2 separate regions of the Homo sapiens genome follow, and region 1 is linked to region 2. The links are contacts of gene promoters, found by promoter capture Hi-C in human tissues and cell types (Jung and others, 2019). All regions are on one chromosome and are shown on one strand. The core of a region is centred on a gene start or on the middle of the fragment in contact, and the rest is flanking DNA. Distances in the headings are between cores, read along the strand shown.

What was found. Contacts are between HindIII fragments. The study calls those that stand out against the background at their distance.
Region 1: a fragment that was not itself captured here is called in contact with the fragment with the promoter of CATSPER3 in region 2 in 1 of the 25 tissues and cell types used here (thymus).

The regions. Positions count from the first base shown.
Region 1 is chr5:134,932,576-134,937,791 of GRCh38, forward strand. All of the region lies in intron 2 of PCBD2 (pterin-4 alpha-carbinolamine dehydratase 2), which reads left to right. Among named protein-coding and RNA genes, the nearest start is that of PCBD2, 30 kb to the left of the region's middle. The HindIII fragment of the contact is 5,267 bases long and covers 1-4,856 here.
Region 2 is chr5:134,965,967-134,971,192 of GRCh38, forward strand. It overlaps CATSPER3 (cation channel sperm associated 3), which reads left to right and starts at 1,941. Exons shown (of 8, transcript NM_178019.3): 1 at 1,941-2,123; 2 at 3,973-4,126. The coding sequence starts at 2,026. The HindIII fragment of the contact is 15,471 bases long and covers 1-5,226 here.

The DNA of each region.
Region 1 (5,216 bases), core at 973-3,472, 33 kb before region 2:
AAGTGATCCCCCCTGCCTTCTCAGGCAGGGATTATAGATGTGAGCCACCATGCCCACCCCTGGCAAATTTTTTAATTTTACTTTTTTTTGTGGAGATGGGATCTCACTATGTTGCCCAGGCTGGTCTTGAATTCCTGGCCTCAAGCGATCCTCCCATCTTGGCCTCCCAAAGTGCTGTGATTACAGGCGAGAGTCACCACACCTGGCCAATTCGGAGTTTCTTAAACTATGATTCTGTTATGTAAGCTTGTGGGTGAGTCTCTTCCATTTTTCTATGTGTTTAAAACTGTGAGCTTTAAATAGAAGGGTTTAACATTTATAGGTCACTCATACTCCACAGAGATCCACATCCACCAGGCCTCTCATTCTAATAGGAATGATACCCTCCTGTTAACATTTGAGTGGCATGTTCAGCTGGTAAATAAATTTTTTTTTATGATTGCATAATATGTTTTATAATTTGGAAAACAGAAAAGTATAAAGAAGAAAAATATACCTGTAATCTTTCTGCTCACTTAAAAACGCTGTGAATGTGCATTTGTGTGAATGTTTATGTATGTATATATATTTGGGATCATATTATAGATATTTTTGGTCAGTTGCTTCTTTCATTTCATGTATAGTGAATATTTTCACATCAGTAAAATATTTTACCTCATGATTTTTTGTTTTGTTTTTTGAGACAGGGTCTCACTGTGTCACCTATGCAGGATTCAGTAGTGCCATCTTGGCTCACTGCAGCCTCTATCTTCTGGGCTCAGATGATCCTCCTACCTCAGCCTCCTGAGTAGCTGGGACTACAGGCATGCGCCACCACACCCGGCTAATTTTTGTATTTTTTGTAGAGACTGGGTTTTGCCATATTGCGCAGGCTGGTCTTGAACTCCTGGGTTCAAGCAGTCCACCCACCTCAGCCTCCCAAAGTTCTGGGACTGTAGGCATGAGCCACTGCAGCTGGCTTACCACACGATTTTGAATGGTGGGAGATATATAAATTATTCCATTGAACAAAAAAGCCATATTTAATTTAGCCAATCCCTTTCTACGGTAACCATCCTCACAGAAGAGGCTTTGTGAGCCCACCTTTTCTAAATGCTCCGTATTAATGCTGTCAGTTGGACACAAAAGTGTCAGGGAGCTGTACTGGGTAGTTCTTGCTAAATATACTCAGGATCTCCATGCCCATTGAGATCAGGAATAGATCCAGTCACCTGTTAAAAAAGTAAATAGAAATCATCACCTAGATAGAATTGATCCATTGAAGCTAAAAAATCAAGCCCTTCAAGTTACTTGAGACAGCCAGAAGGAAAATGTTATGTTATAGGGCTTTGTAGCCACCATTCTCACAGCTTAGTGCAATGGTGTAGGAAATATTTTCACAGAAATATTTCTCTTTTAGAGAGTTTTTTCGGATAAAGAAGGCTTGTTTAATTCAGGAAGAGTTATTTCATAGGAAATTAAATCTTTGTAAATCCTCTATCACATTTCCACACTTGCTAGTTCTGTGGCAAATGATGGCTTTCGAGTGGTTCAGGAAGGGTTTCCTGAAAGCAAACAATTCCATGTTTTATACATATTTGTGTTTTTATTTTTGAATTGGATAAGTAAGGGACATGTACTTTCCCCTTTGTATTTGTCTCTGGGTGATATTGCTGGTTCTCAAACTCAGAATGGTAATTAATTACTTATAATGATTTTAAAAAAAAAAATTTCACTTGGTGAAAATGTTTTCTTGGGCCCGATGAATGACCCCAAAGAACTTTTACAACACAACCAGTAATGTTGGGCAGGTGCTGGAGAGTGGCTGCTGCTTAGAGATCAGTAATTGTTACATCATGGTTTGGTATGCTCCGTGGTGTCTAATCAGGTCGTGTGCTTGGGAACCATGAAATAATTCTCTTTTCAAGTCTTAGTGCATCATTTTTTCTGACATTGATCAAAGATTGGAAAACTAGTATTATATTTGTAGCCACGGTATTCATAACTGTCTTACATTCTTAATCTTTCGGCTTTTTGGTTGAAATACATCTATGCCTCTTAAATATTGAAGGCATAATATCCTTTAACCTACAACTGCAGAGTTAAAATGAATTTTATGTGAAATATTTAGTTGTGGACCACATCTTCAGCTTTTTATATGCCACAGTGGTCTTGTTTTTTTCCCTTCCATTGTCTGATAGTGAGGTCATTTTCAGTCCTCTGAGAAATTCTATTCCCAGCCAGATGCGGCTCATATATTAAAAGTAGCACCTGTGGCTAATATCACAGCAGCTTACCATAAATTTACATGGTAACTAGGATTATATCTGTCAAGACTGTTAAAAAACATCTAGATTTAATTTGATTTCCAGTATTGTAGAAGCTATCCAACATTTTGCTTCATAACTATATTTTAAAAGTTAAAAATCACTCCATTGTTAAGTTTTATAGCACTCCTAGTGCCCATTAAGTTGATTTGTTCAATGGAGGTCAGAGTAAAGCAACTTGGCTACATTAAGATCGGAAACCAACCCATTTGTGACAAATTTAGTCCTTTCGTGTGAATCTTCTCAATGTTTCTGCACTGATTGGATTCAGGTGTAGCTTATGTCAGTAGCATTTAACCTCAAAAGAATGAGCAATCTGATTGGGTTGTTGTAAATTATGAAGCATTTTGCTTTTGCTGGTTTAAATGTAACTGTTGACTCTGCTGCCCGTGCCTGACTGCGCCACTGCATCTGCCTAAACAGGAGTGGTTTGGGTTTGAAGACATCTTAGAAAATTGGGTACATGCCCTCATCCCTTTCCCTCCTTTATGTGACCTTCCTAAACTCCTTTATTCCCCATTATCCTTTGAGTCATCTCCCACATGTTACGATTTGCACACCTGCAGTTATAAAATTATTTTGGGGTGTCATTATATCATGTTGTTCACCAACTTTCCAGCATTTATGAATGCAATAATGATTCACTGTAAATCAAAATAATTTACAAGTTACAGAGAATCTGCTCCTACAAATAAGAATTGAATGATGAATTTCTTTGGTGTCCTCTCATTTGACAAAGAAACTGATAACATATTTCTTTGTATTTGTAAAATTTAGCTAGCAGTCCAGAATGGAATTAAAAGTATAAGTTCAACTTTCTGGAAATTTTGTGTTTTAAAACATGTTAAAAAATATAAACCAGTTAAGAAATAAGCAAAGTCTGTTTCCTCATTAATAGTTGCAATTGGCTTGGCAGTCATCTTGCTCCTGAATGAGACAGTTGTCATGTTAAGTGTTGGCGCCGAGGCTAGGGCAGCGTGCGTAGCCCTGAGTGGAAATGCCTGCTTTAAGCTGGAACTCAGTGTGGAGGTTCTTTCTGCTCTGTTGATCTTTCTGGAGGGAAGTTGTAAGCTTCTTTGGCCTGGGTCTCACTAAGGAAGTGGAACGGCAGCCAAGAATTATTATGCTGAAAATGTTGTGGTGATAGAAAAAAGATGATTAGAAGTGAGGCTAAAATTATAATTTAATATGTTACCAAGTGTAATTAGTCACTTAACAGTATAAGAAAATACCATTAATAACTGATGTGGAACCTTGTAAAATATTTCTTGGCGAATTTTAATGTCTTTTTTGTGTACTTAGGATCAGTTGAGCCCCGTGGGTAACTTGGGTGCCCTGTTTGTGACCCTGGCTTGCTGTGCAGGTTCCCCTTGGACATCTGTGGAGAGGAAGAGTAAGAAGGAGATGGCTGTGCCCAGCCCCGGCCTCTCACACAGCCTTCTGGATTGTTTTACCTCTGCTCCTTCACTCCTTAATAGCTCTCTGTGGTTAACCTTTCTGTCCTCCTCAGTCGCACTGGACGCTCCTTGAGGAACGGGAGCTGTGACCAGGGCCAGAGCCCAGGAAGGTGCTGGGTACAGAGCAGCAGATTGGTAACTGTTTATATCACATGCTTTCAGGAACAGACTGTTGGGAAGATTCTGGGATTTCCAGACATGTTAAAGGTTTCAGATCCTGTGTGGAAAGCAGAAACGTAAGAAACTGATAACTTGTTTTGCTGACCATGATCCTTTTTCTCTTCAGGTCATCCATTGCAGTATGATTTTGTTTCTAAAGGTATCAGTTAATGTTCTGAAGGGGACAGGATTCATGACATGCTGGTGATAAGGCTGCTTGCCAGGTAGCTACCTTTAAGATCCCCGAATTTAGCCTAAAAGGGCCCAGGAGCTGCATCTGTCCAGTGGCCAAAGACAGAACCTTAGAAGGTTGATTTTGAGAATAGAAGACCTGCTTGTTTTCAGGGAGAAGCATTATTTCTCTCTTCAACTCAGAGATGAGTTAAATCCTAAAATGATCATTGAAGTGCACATTGCCAGATTTTGTCACTCATTAGTGCCCTATTACCTTAGGTATAGGAAAAATGGCTATAATTTAAAACCAAATGAGCCAATTTTATAGCACTAAATAGGTATAAACTACTTCTGTGTGCATTGACTTAAAAGGCAATGTTTAGCTTGGTTCTTTCATAATTAACATTCCATGTTGAAAAATAAAAACTGGTATTGACTTTATTTTTATTTAGAATTTCGTTTTAAGCTATGTAAAATAGTATTGCATATTTGTTTTTTCAGATTTCAGATTATAATACATAAGTAAAGCATTTATTTCTTCTAATGAAATCCTTATTTAGCAAATTTTGGCTATTATAATAATATGGTTACTATTGGATGAACAGATATATCCATTTTACATGAAAATATTTTTTTCATTCCATCTACAGATATTTCTTTTTAAAATACATGCAACTTTTCCCTTACTAAAAAAGATGAATTTTATTTGAGAAATCAGTTACTTTGGTATTCTGAGACTAGGTTATAAATCTAATATTGCAGTGTTTTAGGACTATAATTAAGAATAGGTTCTGCTGGTAAATGTTGGAAAGAGGCAAAGAAGAAAGTTACAATACATTGCCTATTTACCAATTAACCATTACCTGCCAAAAGCACATCAGACTCACACAGCGGACATCCGCTAATCCAGTGGTTAGCTGTTCCGGGCTCTAATGCACACTGTTTTACACGTTAACGGTTTTGAAGTTCCAGGCCAAAGCTGACCTTTCACATGTGCTCCGTTCACAGTAGGAATCTCCACTCACTGCTTCCTGTCAGAATGGATTATGGTGACACAGCCCAGGGCCCACTTTGGCTGCAATTAAGTTTTTGATCAGAATTATTTCGTTCACAAACAATC
Region 2 (5,226 bases), core at 691-3,190:
GCCCTAGGGGATTGAGCACAGTGACATATCAGGGCAGGTAGAAACAGATGGAGAGCTGATGCGGGCTGTCTTAGAGCAGCTGCCCCAGGAGGCCCCTGTGGATGGATGTTGGGCAGGAGCCCTGAGACGTTAGGGGCATATAACTAAAGGACATAGCAGGAGTTATAGGAGGAGCTGATCCCTGAGGGAAACAATGAAGACGGAGAAGATGGGGCTAAAGTTTGAATTGTGGGGACATTAATCACAGTGATTCTTAAAACTTTGCTGTTGATGATTTTAAATGGAGAAAATGAGTACGTAAGATGTTATTTCCCAGTTCAGTATATTGGTTGCCCACAAAGTATTTTCCTACCATGAATGGTCATATATACTTGTTGTAGAATACCAGGGACAGCAGAGATGGTGGGGTAGTTACTTCCTTTTCTTACAGCCCAAGAACTTTGGTGTCCAGGAGATTGACCAATTTAGCCACTGAGCATTTAATACAACACAGGGCTACCCAGATCCCACTGTCCTGATTTGCCCTGAAAGCCAAAGGAGTTAGGAGAAGGTGAGTGGGGAGAATATATTAATCCTGAGAGTTGAACAGAGCAAAAATCCCTATTACTTTTGTACTTAAAACATCTCTGCCACATGTGCTCACTCTTTATATTCTGTTTAGGTGGTTTATATGTGCACATCCCATCCTATGCCTGCAGTTAGCCAACTCAGGGTTTATATTGCCTCCTTTCTTTTTTTCTTTTTTTTTTTTTTTTTAAGAGATGGGGTCTCATTCTATCATGCAGACTGGAGTGCAGTGGTGTGATCACAGCTCATTGTAACCTCCAACGCCTGGACTAAAGTGATCCTCCTACCTTGGCCTCTCTGGTAGCTGGGACTACAGGTGCATGCCACCACACCCACCTAATTTTTTTTATTTTTATTTTTTGTAGAGACAGTCTCACTATCTTGCTCAGGCTAGTCCTGAACTCCTGGGCTCAAGTTATCTTGCTGCCTCAGCCTCCCATGGGTAATTTTTATTTCCTTTTTTTTTTTTTTTGGAGATGGAGTTTCGCTCTTGTCGCCCAGGCTGGAGTGCAATGGCACGATCTTGGCTCACTGCAGTCTCCACCTCCTGGGTTCAAGTGATTCTCCATCCTCAGCCTCCTGAGTAGCTGAGATTACAGGCAACTGCCACCATGCGCGGCTAATTTATGTATTTTTTTTTAGTAAGAGATGGGGTTTCACCATGTTGGCCAGACTAGTCTTAAACTCCTGACCTCAAGCGACCTGCCTGCCTTGGCCTCCCAAAGTGCTGGGATTACAGGCATGAGCCGCTATGCCTCGTCGCTGATTTTTATTTCTTATTTTTTTTTTAGAGATGGGGGTCTCACTATGTTGCTCAGGCTGATCTCAAACTCCTGGCCTCAAGTGATCCTCCCACCTTAGCCTCCCAAGTTGCTGGGATTATAAGTGTGAGCCACTATCCCTACCTCACTATTACCTTCTTTGCTTCTCTTGTTTTCTTTTGTTCTAAGTCAAACCCATCACAATCTTTTCTTGTCCTTCCAGGTGTTTTCCAGTGCTGTGCCCTGGATGTGCTCTCTTTCTCTTAGAGCCCAGAGAACTTGCTTTTCCCCCTTATATATGACCCTTAACTTTTTCTAACACATTATTAAGGGCCTGTGTCTATCAGCTGGGGGCACTTCTTGAAGGGAGGGCCTTTGTGTGGTCTGTTTCTAGTGACTTCCAGCTTTAACCCAGAGCCTCATGATTGCTGGGTGCCCATAGCCTTTTTGCTGAATGGAGGCACTCAGTCTCCTTGGGAAGAGAGAATCCATGATAGACCCACTTGGGAGCTCCCCACTTCAGGGGCCTACACACTGGTAATGCAACAGAATGCCCAAGAGTGACCTCATAAAGCAAGGATTCCCTTCGTGGCCCCTTCTCTGCTGCCTCTCAGAATCCAGACGCTAAGGAAAATCCCTAAGCAGAGATTTTCTGTTGGATGCTAAAAGCAAGGAATAAAAGTTGAAAATTTGGAAAATGTCTCAACACCGTCACCAGCGCCACTCGAGAGTCATTTCTAGTTCACCAGTTGACACTACATCGGTGGGATTTTGCCCAACATTCAAGAAATTTAAGTAAATATTATCTATCTCCATTGCCTGTTAAGAAATGTGCTAGTAGAAGTGTGAGGGCAGGGTGTCAGTGTTCTCTCAGCCTCTTCCCTCAGATACTCGTCTGCTTACCAAAATAAGTTGCATGTCCTTGACAATCTGGTTTCTATGATTGGTGAGGCTGGCATGCTATTACCTTTATGTGCCCTGTAGACTTGAATGACCAGTTTGACCAGTTTGACTGTTAGATAATCTGAAGGCTTTTCTCTTTTTTTATAATAGACCCCATCTCAAATCAGATAATGAAAATTACATATCTTGATATATTAGAAAAGTATATACATTCTGGCTGGGCACGGTGGCTCACACCTGTAATCCCTGCACTTTGAGAGGCTGGGGCGGATCACTTGAGGTCAGGAGTTTGAGACCAGCCTGGCCAACGTGGCGAAACCCCATCTCTACTAAAAATACACAGATTAGCCCGGAGTGATGGTGTGCACCTGTTGTCCCAGCTACTCAGGATGCTGAGGCAGGAGAATCCCTTTAACCTGGGGGGCGAAGGTTGCAGTGAGCCAAGATTGCACCACTGCACTCCAGCCTGGGTGACAGAACGAGACTCTGTCTCAGAAAAAAAAAAAAAGAAAAGGAAAAAGAAAAATATATATTCTATATTTTTTTAACTTATGAGAATGTGTTCATTTCATTTGTAACATATAATGGGAAACAGTAATACGTACTCTGAGAAAAATTGCAAAGCACAGATAAATGGAAATAAACAGGAAAAAGAATCACCTATAACCTCACCATCCATAGACAGACACTGTTAAAATTTTGGCATATTTCCTGCTGATTTTTTCTACTGCTGATTTTTGCACAGGTGAGATAATTTTGAACAGAGAATTTTGTATCTTTGGTTTTTGTGTTTTGCTGCACACAAAAACAAAAGATATAAAAATGGATCATAAACATTTTTCTAAATCCTGAAAAATGCATAGACATATTTTAGTGCCTGTATTTCACAAGATGGACATACCATAATTTACTTACACAGTCCTTTTTGTTAGATGTTTAAGTTGTTTTCAAGCTTCTCAGTGCTGGAAAAAATACTGAGATAGACATGTTTAGTTGAAGTTATTTCATTTCAGGTTATATTATCTTGGGTCAGAGAATGAATGGTTCTCAGGCTTTTCAAAAGAGCTGGTCAGTTTTTATGCCTCTGGCAGTTTTTGAGAGTGCTCAATCATACTACACTGTTGCCAGCATTAGATCTTATCACATTTAAGTCATTGCTAATTTTATAAACAAAAACAATGGTTTTACTTTGCATCTCCCTGATTGGTATTGCTGTAGAACATATTTGGAGAAGTTTGTTTGTCTTTGGTGTTTATTTCATGAATAGATTGTGTGCCCATTTTCTCTTGGGGTATTCAGTTTTTTATTACTGATGTGAGCATGTGTATGGGTGATTATTTGATGATTATCAGTTTTGCTTAGTAGACTGGCAATATTTAGTCTTGCTGTCACTGTGTTCCCAGTGCCTACTAGATTGCTTGATATGTAGTTGCCACTCAATAAAGATTTGTTGAGTCAATGAAGATGACACTTTGTTTTGCTGGAGAAGGAGTGGTGACCATTCTTTTTCAGAGGTCCAGGGAGAGGGAGCTAAGTAACTGAGTGAGGACAGAGTATCCATGATCATCATATATATGTCAGTGGTCATTTATTCAACATCTCATTGCTATTTAAAAGTATATGTAAATTTATATTCACACAAGGGAGAAAGCAGAGCCTTGTCCCTACAAAAAGGTATGCATTTTATGGGGATCTAGCTCTATTGTGCTGTAACCATACTTCACATTCAACTTTTTGACAGGAGGAACGATGATGAATGTCGGGCATTTGTGAAGAGAGTCATAATGAGCCGTTTCTTTAAGATAATTATGATTAGCACTGTCACATCGAATGCGTTTTTTATGGCCTTGTGGACCAGTTATGACATAAGGTACCGCTTGTTCAGACTTCTTGAGGTAAGCAGACAAAATGGGTCCATTTTCTTCTTTTTTTAAAACATGCTTTATTTCTGGAAACATTATAAGATTTTTTTTTTTTTCCGAGACAGAATCTCACTCTGTCAGGCTGGAGTGCAGTGGCGTGATCTCAGCTCACTGCAACCTCCATCTCCACCTCCCAGGTTCAAGCGATTCCTCTGCCTTAGCCTCCTGAATAGCTGGGATTATAGGCACCCGCCACCACGCCCAGCTAATTTTGTATTTTTAGTAGAGACGGGGTTTCACCTTCTTGGCCAGGATGGTCTTGATCTCTTGACCTCGTGATCCACCCGCCTCAGCCTCCCAAAATGCTGGGATTACAGGCGTTAGCCACCATGCCCAGCCCATTATAAGATTTTAAGGGTATTTTGCTTCAAGAAATTTTCTGTAGAATTCTAAAAATACTCTAAAATCTGGGAAGAGGGTGGCAAGAGCAGCAGTGGTGACATGGTGGATTTTTTTTTTTTTTTTTTTTTGAGACAGAGTCTCGCCCTGTTGCCCAACCTGCAGTGCAATGGTGCTATCTTGGCTCACTGCAACCTCTGCCTCCCAGGTACAAGTGATTCTCCTGCCTCAGCCGACTGAGTAGCTGGGATCACAGGCACACACCATCATGCTTGGGTAATTTTTGTGTTTTTAGTAGAGATAGGGTCTTGCCATGTTGGCCAGGATGGTCTTGAACTCCTGACCTCAAGTGAGCTGCCTGCGTCGGGCTCCCAAAGTGCTGGCATTACGGGCATGAGCCATCGCGCCTGGCCAGTGACATGGTTTTTAAGTCTCCTTGAATCTCCTCTCAAAAACTGAGCAAGCCTGGGCAACAAAGTGGGACTCCTATCTCTCTTTTTTTTTGTTTTGAGACGAAGTCTCGCTCTGTCACCCAGGCTGGAGTGCAGTGGCGCAATCTCGGCTCACTGCAAGCTCCACCTCCTGGGTTCACGCCATTCTCCTGCCTCAGCCTCCCGAGTAGCTGGGATTACAGGCGCCCGCCACAACGCCCGGCTAATTTTTTGTATGTTTAGTAGAGATGGGGTTTCACCGTGTTAGCCAGGATGGTCTCAATCTCCTGACCTCGTGATCCG